2 separate regions of the Homo sapiens genome follow, and region 2 is linked to region 1. Evidence: promoter capture Hi-C in human tissues and cell types (Jung and others, 2019). All regions are on one chromosome and are shown on one strand. The core of a region is centred on a gene start or on the middle of the fragment in contact, and the rest is flanking DNA. Distances in the headings are between cores, read along the strand shown.

The links. Contacts are between HindIII fragments. The study calls those that stand out against the background at their distance.
Region 2: a contact is called between a fragment that was not itself captured here and the fragment with the promoter of KRT73 in region 1, in 2 of the 25 tissues and cell types used here (spleen and thymus).

Annotation. Positions count from the first base shown.
Region 1 is chr12:52,617,111-52,619,891 of GRCh38, forward strand. It overlaps KRT73 (keratin 73), which reads right to left and starts at 1,449. Exons shown (of 9, transcript NM_175068.3): 1 at 968-1,449. The coding sequence starts at 1,414. The HindIII fragment of the contact is 11,365 bases long and covers 1-2,781 here.
Region 2 is chr12:52,356,950-52,359,730 of GRCh38, forward strand. No RefSeq gene overlaps it. Among named protein-coding and RNA genes, the nearest start is that of KRT85, 9.1 kb to the right of the region's middle. The HindIII fragment of the contact is 6,815 bases long and covers 1-2,781 here.

The DNA of each region.
Region 1 (2,781 bases), core at 199-2,698:
GTCTCCCATTCCCCAGACAAGTTCTACCATGCTGCACGTGCTGTCTCCCTAGATTGCCTTTTCCCCACCTCCATCTGAAAACTCCTACTCATGCCTCACCACCCTACCTCACTGTCGCTCCGGGTGAGCTTCCCCTGCTCCTCTAAGCTTAGGAAGTCTCTGCTTCCCAATACCTTCCTACCACTTTGTTCCTCAGTGATTCTCAAACCTGAGTGTACATCAGCATCACCTGGAGAGCTTGTTAAAATGCAGGGTGCTGGGCCCTGCTGCAGAGTCTCTGATTCAGTTGCTCTGGGGTGGAGCCTGAGAGTGTGCATTCTAACAAGCGTCCAGGTGACGTTGCTGCTGCTGGTTCCAGGGCCACCTTTGAGAACCACTGCTCTAGGGCACCGTGACCTCCAGCTGCCTTGCCTCATAGGCTGTGTGTGTTACGGACTGAGTCTGAGCTTTCAGGGGACACAGGAGGAACAGCTGGGTCGCATGGCAGTCTAGATGCCCCAGGCTGTCAAGGGCATCTCCTTCGCCTAGCTTCTAAGTCTCACAGGCTGTCACTCTGCTACTTCTCAACTCAGAGACCGCTCTCATTGCTTCCTGGACACCTTCCTGGGCTAGGCTGCTGGCTCCTCTCACCCCTCCAACCCTGGTCCCTTGCCTCTGATGTCCAGGCTTTGTCCAGTTCCTCCCTGGGCTATGTCTGCATCCTGGGGAGGTGTCCTGCCTTCGTCTGCTTCAGACAGGGAGCACCCCAAGGACAATGAAGGCGGGGGAAGGAAGGGGCTCTACGGCATGAGCAAGCCTTATGGGCCCAGCACCTGGGGAGCTTTCAAGTTGTTTACCTGGTGTCTGATTTTGCTGGGAGAAAATGATTTCTTGCTCTCAGGCAAATTGAACCACAAATTAGGGCAGTGGCTCCCTCCTGAGTCCTTAAAAGGGGAGCCCAAGATCAGCTTTCTCCAGAAAGACCCACCTTGTCAATGAAGGAGGCGAACTTGTTGTTCAGCACCTTGATCTGCTCCCGCTCCTGGGCACGCACTTTCTGGATTTCAGGGTCCAGCTCCACGTTCAGGGGTGCCAGGAGGCTCTTGTTGATGGTGACCTGATGGATACCCCCGGGCGGGCACAACGACGGACACACGGACCCCAAGGCCACACTGCCAAACATGCTGCCAGCAAAGCCACTGGCCCGGCCCCGGCCAAATCCATAGCCTCCTGCCCACCCACTGCCACTGGCCACATTGAAAGAGATGCTCCGGGCACCCCCCAGGCTGTAAAGGCTCCGACTGCTGAAGCCTCCACTGAGCCCTTTGCCCCCTGCTCGGTAGGAGGATGAGCTGCCCCCTGAGAGCACAGCGGAGCAGCCGCTGAAGCCCCCCTTGGCAGCAGCTCCCGACTTGTAGGTGAATTGGCGGCTCATGGTGGGGAGGCCAGAAAGTGGGGATAAGATGCTGACCCTTAGCTGAGATGCAGTTCACCAGCCTGTGATCCTGGGCTCCCACTTTATAGGACTCAAGAGGGAGCCATGGGCCTAATTTGTGGGTTCAGTTTGCCTGGAAGCAAGAAATCATTTTCTCCCAGCAAAATCAGACACCAGGTAAATGACTTGAAAACTCCCAAAGTGCTAGTCTTGCAAGTCTTGCTCATGTAATTTGAGTTTTATCTAATGAACATGTGTAATTAGCATGGGCACATTATCCATAGAAAGATCTTAGGTGGGAGGTTTGTCGCAGTCTCAATTGCTGTTCCCCAGGGAGTGGTGGGGCCTGGGATTGTAGGGGTACAGAGGGGAGACCTTTAATTGACAGTGTCATCTGTTAGAAATCTCACAACCATGCCAGCATCAGATGGGCTGCTTCAGGGACCCTGGCTGAGCTGCTTTTATGTGGTTAAGAAGAGGCTGCTGCTGCCTGGCTTCCCAGAGTTCCTGGAGACAGGTTTGATGGCTGGCCAGGGCCATAGGAGAGGAGCACACTGGGAATCCAGGACCAGCCTCTGGCTGCCAGCCCCCTGCTGTGCCCTCCCAGGCAGCTCTCCTGCTCCTCTGTGCCAGCCGGGCTGCCCTGCTCACCTTCCTTTGCACACACTGACTTCTTTTTCCCTTTACCATCCCACTACCCTGACTCTTGACCTTGAAATTATGGTCATTGCACCATTCACGATGGCTGACACTGGTGCAGCACTTTACAGTGTAACAGAGCTCCTCACACAAGAAGCTCATTTAATCCACTTAGTCTGCATGGAGGGGAATGGTGATGATCCACATTACACAAATGGGGAAACCAAGGTTCAGATAATTGAGGATGTCATTCCTTTAGCAAACATTTAGTGAGTCCTTTCTTTGTGTGAATCCCAGAGAATGAAAATGCCCCCAAAAAGCACAGGCCCCAGCCTTGAGGACTCCCTTGGCTGGTCTTCTGACTCCACATTCAGAGCTATGCCCGCCTTATTCATTCGTCCATCTATCCGTCCAACCAGCCAGCCAGCCATCTACTTGTTCATTCATTTATCCATTCGTTTAACAGACTTCTCTTGAGGGCTGACTCTCTCCCAGGTACTGTGCTAGGCTCTTGGGTCCCGAATTATGAAGACCAAACCTAGCTCACAATTTTGGAGATGGGGAGGTAGGGGAAGACATTTGAATTTCATGGATCCTTGACATTGCCAAAGTATGTGACCCAAGAGTTTCCCAAATCCCAAATCCCAAATATATCCATAGTATAGAATTTCCTCCATAAAAACACAAGTATTTCACTAGCTGGAGTACTTGAATGAACAGTTGGCCCA
Region 2 (2,781 bases), core at 134-2,633, 260 kb before region 1:
CTGATGTCTTCAGACTCTGTTTCAGTGACCACAATGGCCAGGCAGTGACTTGACCTGGGCGGACAGAGGTCTATCTTAGTAGGGTGGTGCTTCCCTTGTCTCTGTCTCCCGGACCAAAGGGTCTTGCAGGGGCCTGCCCATCACAGTCCGGATCCCACCAAGTTTGAGCAGCAGTAAAGCCAGGTTAAAAGGGTCACCAGAGTGACTCTGAGGAGGAAACGGTGTCTCAGGGGGCATTGGCTGCCCTGGGGCATGGGACTGTGGACTGGGGAAGGGTCTGTGTTTCCTTTTGATGGTGGTGGAGGGTGGCTATTTGTCTATGAATGCCTTGGGTATTTTCTTCATTTTTAATGCGTAAGCTTATCATGCTGTCCCCGCCTCACCCCACTCCCTGGCTGCTCCCCTGCCAACATGGGGGAGCCCTCGGTTTTTGAACAAAGCGGAAATGAGCAGGGATTTCCAGGCATGCACAGGTTGGGGGTTGGGGGTTGGGGGAGGCAGGAAGGTGGCCTGAGGCTCTGTGAAATAAGCCTCTCCCATTGCTTGTTCTGCCTGGCATGTCCCTACACCCAAGGAGTGTGGCGCTTAGTGCCCATGTCGTTGTTGCTCTGATCCTCAATGAGCAAAACACTTAGTACAGTCACTTCCTAATGCTCATGTTCCCAGAGAGAGACAGGAGTGTGAATAACCCAGACAAGGGGACATTAAGTCCCACATGGTCATGTCCGTGTCTACACAGAACATACTTGGTAATTTTCTTGATAATATGGTTAATTTGTGTTCCTCACTATGCTTGGCTAATGTGAGTAGTAACACAAAATTCTATTTTCTGAGATCCCAAAGATTGAAGCAGGGAACAGTTAGAGACACGGGCTGGGGGAAGGAACTCTCTTGGGCATAGGTGTTTGTGAGGATGGGTTGAAGCAGAGTGGGTTGAGAATTGGTGGTGGAGTGTTAGTGGTTTCAGGAGAAAGGAAAAGATGACAAATCCCAAGCGTACCTGTTTCTTTGAACAGGTTATTATCCATACTTCTAATCCTCTGGAAGCTTTGTGTGTTTGTGGGGAAGGATATCACTAACATTTACATAAGAATTGAATACAGACAGCAGGTCTGATTTTCTCTGATGCTGGTGTTAGCTTGGTTTGTGATGTTTCTAAGCAGGAAGGAGCCCAGGGCAGAGATCTGGGATCACTCCCATGGCCCACTTTATTGTTTGGGCCTCTTGAACTTCTGGCTTTTCCTCGATCTCTCAATTTCAGGTCACTTGACTTCTTCAGAATTTTTTCTTTCTAATAAAATGTTAATCCTTAGTTACCCTTGGACTGTACCCTTTGCATTCCGAGGGGAATAGTTCTTTGATCAGGAGAGAGCTGCAGGAGCCCCAGCATCCTTTGAGCCAGAAGAGCTTGCTGTGGTGGGTTTTTGCTGTTGGCTGCAAGGAGGGCTGGGGCAGAGGCTTACCTCCCCATAAGCAAAAGGCACCTCTGGCCAGCTGAATCTGTTGAATGGTATTTGCACACAAAGCACGGAAATGTATTAAAAAATTCATTCCTATCTCCCAGGTTCTGGCTGTTTGACTTTTCAATCCATGGTGCCGTTATTTTTTGGGTATCAGATTTGGCATTTTTGTTTTGCTCAGCCCAGATCCATGGTAACATGAAGCTGTTTTCCCCAAGCATAGACTCTCTGTAGCATCTCAGAACCATAGGAGGCAGCAGACCTGGTAAGGACTCTACCCACTCATCTCATAGACCCCAGACTGACATGCAAAGCATGAAAGCCACTTCCTGCCCAAGGACTCACCGAGACCTGGCAGTCTTGGCAGAATTGGGGCTCAAATTTCCATTTCCTGATGTTTCAGCCCCTGGGATTTAACGTTTCCTGTGGGTGAATGATGTCCCCTAAATTGAAAGTTGGCCTATTGTGATTGTCACCATGCCCTCAGGGCCCAAACAGCTGGGAAAAAGGAGGCAGCAGGCAAGAGACCTGGAGGAGGCCCGCCAGGTGTCAGCCAGCAAACCTCAAACAGAGCAGCAGCCTAAGCACTCAGAAGCAGCCAGCAGCCTCCAGTGGGGCTACAGCCCTTTGGGCCTAAAGTGAGGATGCACAAGGCCCTATCTTCTCCTCTCAGAGAAAGAGGCTGCAGGATGGGGCAGCAGGGGGCTGGCAGACACCTGCTTGATGACGGTGACAGCTAATGGGGAGATGGAGCTGAGGGCAAGAGGACTGGATGTCTCTACCTCCTGCTGCACCAGCTGCCTGCATTCATCCAGCACATCCCAGGCCTGGCATATCTTGGAGCCCCATCCTGGGACTCAGTGGGAGGTCAGAGCCAGGAGGAGATACTTCCTGTCCTTATGGAATTTCCAGCTTGATCCAGACACACCCGTTGACATCCCTGGCCCAGATCCGCAGAGACAAAACCAGAGATTCTCAGGGTTCCAGACACTATATGATGGGGGCGGGGGAGGGCTGGGGGGTGTAGGGGTGAGGGTGGTAGCTTTGGGGAGCAGAGGAGGGCCCTGAGCAAAGGCAAATGGGAGGAGGGATGTGGGATGGCCTATGTGTCCACAAGGGGTATGTAGGAGAGAGTGTCTCTGGGCTGCCTCAGAGGGTAGACTTGTCTCCTTGGGGTGGAGTCCATGACTGGGAGGATGAGCACCGCATGGAGGGGTTGGACAGGGCTGAGGAGTAGCTGGGGAAGGAGGTGACAGAGGAAGCCTGCATTTGGCATAAGAAGCACACACATGTGCCAGGAAGTGACTTGAGCCAGGCAGGA